Regions from separate parts of the Homo sapiens genome. Here region 1 is linked to region 2. The links are contacts of gene promoters, found by promoter capture Hi-C in blood cells and fetal thymus (Javierre and others, 2016). All regions are on one chromosome and are shown on one strand. The core of a region is centred on a gene start or on the middle of the fragment in contact, and the rest is flanking DNA. Distances in the headings are between cores, read along the strand shown. Region 1 holds the start of MLF1 (myeloid leukemia factor 1). Region 2 holds the start of SHOX2 (SHOX homeobox 2).

Region 1 (5,056 bases), core at 1,415-3,914, 460 kb after region 2:
CAAATGCTACTTTAGCACTGCCCTGGAATGCTTTTCCACTAGACATCCACTTCCTTCCTGTGGGTCTTTGCTCAAATTCCCCTTAGTGAGGCGTACACAAAACTTGCTATTTATAATTGCACCTCTCCATACTCCTTACCCTGATCAGCTTTTCTCCCTAACACTTATCACCTTACAATATACTATTTTCTATTTTGTTTATTTTGAGTCTGTCCTTACAAGAACATAAACTCCGGGAAGGCAGAGATTTTTGTCCGTTTTGTTCAATGATGCCTAAGGTCGTAGATCAGTCCCCAACACTGGGTAGTCACTCAATAAATATTTGTAGAATTGAATTTATGTGATGTGAATATATTCCCACTGAATTTTGTACTTTTTAGTTTGGGTCCATTTAGCTTGTCAGCATGATTTTGAAAAATGATTACCCGCTTTCATCCTGCATCTTTAAGTATGACTCATCACTCACATACCATATAACCAGCACTCACAGAGGAAAGCTCCAGGTACCCAGCTCAGTTCAATTACTAGCTGTGTGAACCTTGGCAATTTATTCAGCTTCTCTGTGTCTTGAATGCATCATCTATACATGGGGATAAAAGCCATCTCTACTCCATAAAACTGCTAATGAGGATTCAATGAGGTAATGCATATGGAGTGCCTACAACAGTGCCTGGCACACATTCAATAAATATTAGCTATTATGATTATATTTACAGCCAAGTCCAGGACCCTCTCCTCTCAGTCCTGTTCTGCATCTCTATTCCTCCCATGCTGGAGTATTCATTCTCTCCTGACCCACGCTTTCTTTCATTTCCACCTCTTACCCATCAGTTCTGAAAATGATGTCAAGGTCTCTTCAGTGCCAACTCTGCTCTGCCCTCCTTTTTTTTTTTTTTTGCATTTGTCATTAGATCCAAACTGCTTTCACAAGGTTCAGCTAATTCCCTGACTAACCTGTGCCTGGACTAAAGCTTTTATAACAATGTGATTCTAAAAAAGTTCCCACAGAAACTAGAGGGTAACATTACAAATTTACTTGGCCTTAATCCAGAACTATTTTAACACCATCTTTTATCACATAACTTACTCCATTTCAAGTTTTTTTTTAAGTGTGGCCTCCTTCACATCTTGTGCTTATACTATTTTAAAGAGAAAAACAATTTAAGGTCTTATAAAACAATTTTGTTTGCCTTGAAATTTATTTAGAAATTTTCGAAATTTTGTGTATATGTTCTCTGAGCTTTATTCTGAGTCCAGAGGAAAAGAAAATATCCTCTTTCCTGGATGGGCTGTGCCATCTCATCTTGGGCTGTGAAGTCTGCCCTACCCCATGCCACCAGTCTCAGGGGAAGGAAGCTGCCAGAGAACTTGGCTAAAAAAGGGGGATGGGGAGTAAAAGATCCAAACGATTAAATTTCCAGCTCTCAAAATAACCCCTGACTACTCCTGTCACCTCCAAATCAGGGCTTGCACACTTCTTCATGCTGGCAAAGTGCCACCCCTCTGGCCTGATCCCAGGGGGCCCTGATGAGCTATGGACGCCCCTTTATCTCTGCAAGACAGCCACGTAGAGAAGCTGGGGAGCTCACTGAATTAAGGGTGGACATGCAAGATGTATTTTCTCTTTTCTTATACTCTTACCATTCTTCTCCTTAATCTCTCTTCTGTCTTCCCCTCCATCTGTCTCCAGGCTCCTGAAAGGCCCCGTGATAGTGTTTTCTAAAACTTAGTAATTTGAGTACCACTATCACGATGTTCCTCTCCCCTGCTCTGCCTACCCCTCCGCCCCACCATATCCAAATTCCACCTGTTCTATTTGATAGCTTACTTTTTCACTTAAAAATGCAAAATCTAGCTCTTGATGTATATCACTGATTTAAATTTAAAATCAGTTTCCTTGCCATAAATAGAAAGCTCCCTGATAAATGTAATGCAAATAAAAACATATAGTAGTGGAATTTTAGTTGGATATGGCTGCTTGCTGCAGGCCTGTGCCTGAAACCTGCTGTTAGGTTAAGAAATGCTGGAGAAGTGTTAAAAACATATCAGCATCGCAGTGAGACTTGATCTTTGAAAGAGAGACACAGAAGGACAACCGAAAAGAGAGCAGCTTTCTCAAGAGGTAAATAAGTTTGTTGAAATCTGATAGGCTTCATCCCATTTCCTTCAACAACTGAGTACACTATTTGCTAACTGTACTAAAAAACGTTTTGCACATTTTTTCTTATTATTTGCTCACAGCTTTTGACTACCAGAGAATGTTTCGGATACAGGACTAATTCCTGTGGATGACAGAATGCGACCGTTGAATGGGACATTGGGTGTCATCTGGTCCAAATCTTGACCCCTTTTCATTTTCCCCGAAAGAAAGACTTGCGGCTCGGAACCGAGGGCGGCATGCCCAAGGTCACAGAAAGGGTGGTCTAATGTTTTGGTTCCTGCAGCCCAGAGAACAAGCTATCCCATCCCACAGGAGCCTTGGCGAAAAGCTCCCCGGCCGGCGCAAGGCCAGACTTCTCGCCTCCACTGTGTTGATTGCGGTTGCCAGGGCAGCGGCGCATTGCTCCCCGCCTCGTCCTGGTGACGTCACAGAGCAATGTCCAATGGGAAAGCAGCTCGGTGTCACGCACCTCCTATCCCGGCGGGCACCGCCTGCGCCGCGGCGAGTGAGGCGTCGTCCGTACTGGAGGCTAGCTCTTGTCGCGGCCGCGGCGAGTTAACATCGTTTTTCCAATCTGTCCGCGGCTGCCGCCACCCAAGACAGAGCCAGAATGTTCAGGATGCTGAACAGCAGTTTTGAGGATGACCCCTTCTTCTCGTGAGTTACGGGAGCCAGGAGTCCGGGGTCGCGCGGGAATTAAGGTATCGAGGGGAGCTATTTTAAGGGAAAAGAGCGAGTTTTAGAGGGCGAGAGAGAATTCGGAGTAACTCTGGAGGCGGTTTGAAGGAGACGAGGATTTGGAGGCCTGGGAGGGAAGAGAGAGGAGGATTTAGGGGTGTGTGAGACAGGGAAGAGACGGATTTGGGCGCATGAGGTGGAGAGAGGAGGGTTTGGACGCGTGAGGTAGGCGGAGGGAAGTTTGGGGGCGTGAGGTGTGGGGAGGAGAGTTAAGGCTGGGAGTGGGGGGAGAAGAGTTGAGGCCGGGAGGTGGGGGGAGGAGAATTGAGGGCATGAGGTGGGGAGAAGAGGTTGAGGGCGTGAGGTGAGGGAAGGGTTTGGGAGCATGAGGTGGGAGGGAGGAGGGTTGAGGGCGTGAGGTGAGGGGAAGGGTTGAGGGTGTGAGGTGAGGGGAAGGGTTGAGGGCGTGAGGTGAGGGGAAGGGTTGAGGGCGTGAGGTGAGGGGAAGGGTTGAGGGCGTGAGGTGGGGGAAGGGTTTGAAAGCGTGAGGTGGGGGGAGGAGGGTTGAGGCTGTGAGGTGGGGGGAGGGTTTGGGAGCGTGGGGTGGGAGGAGGAGGGTTTGGGGGAGTAAGGTGGAGGGGGGAGGGTTGAGGGTGTGAGATGGACGAAGGAGGATTTGGGGGTGTGAGGCGTTTGGAGGAGGGTTGAGGGCGTGAGGTGGGGGGAGGGTTTGGGAGCATGAGGTGTGGGGGAGAGTTGAAGGTGTGAGGTGTAGGAGGAGGGTTGAGGACGTGAGGTGGGAGGAGGATTTGGGAGCATGAGGTGTGGGGGAGGGTTGAGGGTGTGAGGTGAGGGGAAGGAGGGTTTTGGACCGCGAGGTGGGGGGAGGAGGGTTGAGGGCGTGAGGTGGGGGGACGGTTTGGGAGCATGAGGTGCAGGGGAGAGTTAAGAGCTTGAAGTGCAGGGACGAGGGTTGAGGGCGTGAGTTGGTGGGGAGGGTTTGGGAGTATGAAGTGCAGGGGAGGATTGAGGGCATGAGTTGGTGGGGATGGTTTGGGAGCGTGAGGTGGCGGTAAGAGGGTTGAGGGTGTGAGGTGGATGGAGGAGGATTTAGGGGCTGAGGAGGATTTGGGGGCATGAGGTGTGGGAGGAGGGTTGGGGAGAAGGGTTGAGGGCGTGAGTTGGTGGGAAGGGCTTGAGAGCATGATGTGGGAGGAGGGTTGAGGGCGTGAGGTAGGGGGAAGAGGTTTGAGGGTGAGAGGTAGTGGGACGAGGGAGGGTTGGGGCGTGAGGTGGAGGGAGGAGGGTTTGGGGGCATGAGGTGTGGGGAAGAGGGTTTAGGGGCATGAGGTGTGGGGGTAGGAGGGTTGAGGGTGTGAGGTGGACAGAGGAGAGTTGATGGCGTGCAGTGGGGGGAGGAGGGTTTGGGGGCGTGAGGTCGCAGGAGGATGGTTGAGGACGTGAGGTAGAGAGTTGAGGGCCCCAGGTAGGGGGAGGAGGATTTGGCTGCATGAGATGGAAAGAAGGCCCTTCCTCACACTCCCGGGGTGCCTGCTGCTTTCCATTTGGCCGGACTTTGGGTGCCCGTCATGGCTTCCTGTGTGCAGAGTTGGCCTTTGCAGCTTCAAGGGCTTTGCAGGTGACATAACTACCATCTCGGTGAAACTTATGGTGAGAATTATGTTCACATAATTGCAAATGGGAGCAGGGAATATTTTATAGCTCCTCTTTAAATTCCAAATAGGAACAGGTAATATTTTATAGCATGACAGTTCATTGAAAAGGGGAAGTTTTTAAAACAGCATTTTCCATGTGAGTGGGGAATGTGTCAATGAGAGCACGACAAAGTTGGAGAGTTGTGCTTTCTCTTCGAAGTTGTTGGAAGTTGCCATGCCAATTGCGCTGTTTTCTTTGCTCGCTTTGTTACAGAGCTAACCTTGTTTGTGAAGGGACTCCGCTTTCTGTCAAAACTAGAAATAGGACAGGGAAGCTGATGGGGCGGGGCGGGGGGAGGGGGGCGGGAGGAGGGCGGCGGGGGGGGGGGGGTGTGTATTTAACACCTCAGGTAAGCAAGTGCCATTCGTTGCCTTTGAAGGTTCCCAGTGAAGTAATGTGATGCCCTAGAAAGAAGGCATCCAGAAATTGGTTTCACTATTATTTATTTTTGAGTTGTGGGATTTTTTTTCCTTAATTCTAACTTTGGCCATTGTTACAAAC
Region 2 (5,073 bases), core at 974-3,473:
GCGCCCGCCGGGGGTTCAGACCTGAACCTCGCCGTCAGGCGCGCTGGCGAACCTGTAGTTCGGGCCTGTAGTTGTGGACTCATGGCCGGGAGGCTGCACTGGGCACCTTGACGGTAACTCCACCACTTTACAAATTTAGGAAGACCTGGTGCTGGTTTGGAGGAAGAAGAGTCGCTAGATCTCGGCCCTGCCGGGCATTCTAGCTACGGTGATCTTAAATATTGCCGTATTTTCTAGTTCTCAGAGTTAGTTTTGTGGACATTTGTCCTTTCTTTAGGAAGGAACATTATAGTAAACATTATGGGCCAATTTAATAGCAAAGTATTTTTACTGATATTGTATTGAAATTTAAATATGAAAACACACCCTTCAAATTCTGCCAATGAGGTGGGAAGGCTTTGTCTATTACATGTCATCTACACAGTGGATGCCACTCAAAGTTTTGGGGCTTCGAGGAGATGTCCAAATTTCAAGTTGATCCATAGACTTAATAAAATCTCTATTTTTGTCCCCAAATTTCCAATTACTGATCTAAACAGGAACAGACCGTGTCATAAACAACTTAATTGCTTGCTTAAATATGTGATTCCACGCATGCCACATATTTTCTTAATTGGAAAAATATGGCAGTACACCAGTTACTGCAGGCACCAAGTGCCAAATCAATTTTATTGTTGAACTCCTTTGAATTGGTATAGAACGCTCTGCCATTGAGATAAAGACGTTTCCTAACACTGAGCTAGCACCAAAGGATTTTTGCTCTAAGAGAACCGAGTACTGGGTGATTGAAAACACTAAAGGAATTGTGTAAATATAGATCCCCACCTCCCCCGCCGCCCCCCCCCCCCGCCCCCAACACACCAAGAAACCGAAACGCCTCGCCCGGGAGAAGCAGCGTAGCCTGGACCTCAGCTTTCGTTGGCTTCCTTCTACCTTGAAAGAGAATGGGAAGTTTTGGCCCCTAAGATCCAAAGATTCAGGGGCTCTGCGGAGTTCGAGGGGTCTTGGCGGCCCCAAACACCTAGGCGACCGGAGGGTTAAGCTTTCCACCTCTGCCCCTTCTCCCTCCCGGCAAACTCTGCGCTAGAGGCTAGCTTTAGTCCCGCCGTCTGGTTCAGCACCCCCTCCTGCAGCCCGGCCCCGCGAACTTCCACGTCCGCCTGCGGGCCATCCGGGCTGCGGGCCCATCCTCCCGCTGGTGAAAAATGCATTTCGGTGGAATGGGAACATCTGGGAAGGGCGCGCACAAACCCCACACGCTTCCCCCCACGCCACCCCCACAACACACTAGGACCCCACCCATGACCGAGCATACCACCGGACCCCCACCCTTCCACTATCACTCTAGCTGACAAAGCTGGGGTCCAGGGCCCTCTCCGTGTCCCTCTCCCCTCCCCGCTGGGCCTCGGAGTCCTCTCCCGCCCGAGAGGAGTCCGGAAGGCGGGAAGGGGAACCGCTGCCGGGGGTCAGTCAGGTCGTTACCCTCCGTCAGTCGCGGGCTGCCCGGCTCCCTGCTTCTCTCGGCGGCGCCCATGTCCAGCTCCCGGACGGGAGAGCGCCCTCCTCCAGCTCCTCCGCCTGCTCCTCCTCCTCCTACACCTCCTCCGCCTCCTCCGCCGCCGCCTCCGCCTCCTCCGCCGCCGCCTCCGCCGGCCGCCCGGACTGCCGGGCTGCTGCGGTCGTCGCGGCCCGCCTCGGTGCAGCCGGTCGGCTCCTTGGCCCCGCGCAGCGGCCCGCTCTCCAGCACCTCCCGGTACGTGATCGCCTCCTTCTTCTCCTTCACTTTCTGGTCAAAAGACTTGGAGACGAACGCCGTAAGTTCTTCCATCGCCGCCGCACGTCAGCCCGGCGCTCAACCTCTGCCAGCAGAGCCCCGCTCTTTTTTTCCTTCTTCTTTTTTTACTGCTCCAGCCCCCCCAATAATAACACATCAATGGGACAGGAGGTGGGGGAGGAGAGGGAGGAGGAGAAAGAAGAAGAAAAAGAGGAGAAGAAAGAAGAAAGAGGAGGAGAAGTAGAAGGAGAAAAAGAAGTAAGAAGAGGAGGAGGAGGAAGAAGAGGAAGAGGGGGAGAAGGGTGAAGAGGAGAGGGAGGAGGAGGAGGAGAAGAGAAGGGGCGGGGGCTGCCGGAGGGAAATGGGAACTGATGCTTCCCTGCCGGAGCGCGCTTGTTCAATGTTAAGATCTTTGACAATTCTTCCTGCGGAGAGTTCAGATCTGATAGCGACGCTGCGCTTGAAGTCCCACTATTTATACTTCCTAACGGCGGCCTCTTGTTTTGAGTAAATTACCTCCCCTCGCAACTCGGAGTGAGCCCCCTTCCCGGGTAGCAGTCGCGCCTCTACCGGGGGTTGGGGAGGGGAAAAGGAGAGAAACAGAGAGAGAGAGAGAGAGAGAGAGAGAGAGAGAGAGAGAGAGAGAGAGAAGAGGAGAGAGAGAGATTGGAGTTCGGGCGGGCTGGGGCTGGAGTGGTAGGGCAGCACAGGGGGACCGGAGGGGGCGGGGAGAGAAGGCCGGTCCCCGGCCGCTCAGGTTTTCAGATAGCCCCTGCCGCCTGTGCTCTTGGCCATTAATCCAGGATTGACAAGAATCCCTAATTAATTTAATTAGGCGTGGATTTTGCGTTGGTGTCACGACTTAGTTAAACACTGGGGAGCTGGATAGACCCCGCGGGGTGGGGCCAAGAGGAAACTGACAAGTGCGCAGCTCTTAGAGTCAGTCAGGTATCCCGACACTGCATCCTTCCCTACAGCCTTGCTTCGAGTCAGGGTGCCTCGCAATGCTCAGCTTCGCATTGCTTTTCCTCGTCCCTGCCCTGCATCAACCGCCCAGCAGTTTACAGGCCCCGCATCCCATTCCCGCATCCTGACCCCGCATCCCAATTCTGCATCCCCGCCTCTCCCTCACAATCCCACCCCTGCCGGCCGTAGCTCCACCGCCCAGCATCATCCTGCCCAGAGACAGGGTTGCCTGCACCTTCTCCGACCCGCGCAGCTTCTCTTAGGAGCTTCCCGGCTCGCAGGCAGGCTGAGTCCGGGTCTTCTCCAAGCTCCTCGCCCCTCGGTCCGTGTTATTCGCTCTATTATTCGTGTCCTGGAGCCCAGCTGACTCCTCTATGGACAGACCCCGCTAAAAGGGACCAGTCGATTTAACAAGTTTCCCCAGCAGCTGTTAGCTGACAGATCTCATTTTAAAGTGTTTCCTTAGCGCCCGGTCAAGGACAGCTCGACTTCGTTCGTTTCCTCTCTGAGGTCTCAGAACTCCCACCCTTCTCCCTTACTCTCTGCACTCGGACCCCTCTATGGTGAATTACAGGACTTCTTCTTTAGCATCTTGGGAAACATCCGAGTTTATTTACTAATTTGAAAAACAAGAGATTATCCCTCTTCGAGTCTGAAAAAAAAATCGACGTTAAGTTTGTACCCCCTCTAATTTCATTTATTACGGAGAGCTAAAAAAGAGACGCTCGCCAGGAGTAAAGGTCTCTCTGCCTACCCCCCCCACCACCCCGCTTACGATTTAAAATTCTATTTCTGGGCTATTTTCATCGGAACGGTTTGTTACGTTAGAGGAACATCTATATTCCTGAGTCATTTGTCTGTATTGTGCCGGACAGGGCTTGCTGTGAGAAGTGTGGCTATGCAAATACATACTCACAAAAGAATATTTACATATGATGTTATATTTAAGTGTGTAAACAAATATACCTCTAAGTGTGGCTTAGGGGACATTTTCAAGTACTCTGAATATTAATGCAGACTTTCTGGAAGTTAAAGGTAACTTGATCATTATTTTGGATCTAATACTCTTAGTAAAAATAAGAGGAATTACAGAACATTAATATGTATATCTTCCGTATATTGGTTAAGGCATCAAAACAAATTAGCAGATAATTTAAGAAGTTCCGTCAAAACAACCTGAAACACTTGCAAAAAGAGAACACAATTATAACTTAATATATTAGTGTTTCTCAAATAGATGTAGATAGAAGCTGGATATAACCTTATGTTATACTACAATACTCACATTAAAATGTTCATGTTTGGTGAGTTTAAGGATTATGTATATCATGCTTTTTAGAAACGTTGTTTTCCCTTTTTAAAACATTTCATTTTTTGCCACTTTTAGGAGAGCTAATGTCTATAATTTTTCCGCAGCTATAGCTTTTAGGTATGAATACATTGTTATCAGTACTTGCTTTTGTTTTGTTACACCACAAAAGGGACAAAGTTTCAAAGTTATACGAATTTAGAAACAATTTCACATTGAGTCTTGGGTTACTCTTTGTAACTACTTTCTGATATTATCAGAGGAAAATAATCATACAACTTTAGTCCTTTATGAAAATCTGTTTTTAAGATTATTTAGCAGAAGGGCCAGTAATAGGGAGAGCTAAGAGGATACGGTGCTCAAGGTGCTCTCAAACTGAGGTGTTAAATACATATTCACAAATAACTCAAAAATAACCACTGTTAGAAGTCGGTTAAGGAATCAGGAGACCCACCAGCTACTTGTTTGCCTTTTTAAGTACATGACTTTTAGGTTTGAAGTCATATTTCATCTACTGAGCTTGAGGGAAAGATGACCACTTTGAAGGTAATCAGGGAAGTCACAGACACAACTATTGTGTAATTCAAACCAATAAATTTTCCCATGATCTCAGCTTTTTGGCTCATTGCATATTTAGGAATAGTAGTGTTGATAACAGATGGAGCCATGAGAAATCTTTAGTGTCTGACCACAGATTTCCACTGGCCTAAGGGAAGTTACTTTAAAAAATATTTCAAGGTTTTAAATTCATACATTAATAAATGCTCACAAAGTTCCAATGATGTTGTTTCATTAAACAGCAAATATCTTCCAGAAACAGGGCATTTCAAAATACAGTTTTTGTTTAAAAAAAAAAAAAAGCATTTATGGTAAAGCTCAGCTGACAGTCTGTGGACAGATGCACAGGTTCCAATAAAATTCAGGACCCCAAGGGTTTCCCCAGCTCTTGAATTATTTAAAATATACACGTAGTGTTGTAGTAGTTAAGTTTTAAAACGGTGCCTCAAAACTGGCTAGTTAAGGT

What was found. Contacts are between HindIII fragments. The CHiCAGO score rates a contact against its expected background, and 5 or more counts as called.
Region 1: the fragment with the promoter of MLF1 here is called in contact with the fragment with the promoter of SHOX2 in region 2 in 5 of 17 cell types (naive CD8 T cells, erythroblasts, endothelial precursors and 2 more); the score reaches 8.6 in naive CD8 T cells.

Annotation. Positions count from the first base shown.
Region 1 is chr3:158,568,530-158,573,585 of GRCh38, forward strand. MLF1 (myeloid leukemia factor 1) reads left to right here and starts at 2,665. Exons shown (of 8, transcript NM_001369783.1): 1 at 2,665-2,818. The coding sequence starts at 2,772. MLF1-DT (MLF1 divergent transcript) reads right to left here and starts at 2,537. Exons shown (of 5, transcript NR_104147.1): 1 at 1,642-2,537. The HindIII fragment of the contact is 5,771 bases long and covers 970-5,056 here.
Region 2 is chr3:158,104,197-158,109,269 of GRCh38, forward strand. It overlaps SHOX2 (SHOX homeobox 2), which reads right to left and starts at 2,224. Exons shown (of 5, transcript NM_001163678.2): 1 at 1,483-2,224. The coding sequence starts at 1,828. RefSeq lists a silencer at 1,614-1,663 and an enhancer at 2,412-2,915. The HindIII fragment of the contact is 5,227 bases long and covers 1,041-5,073 here.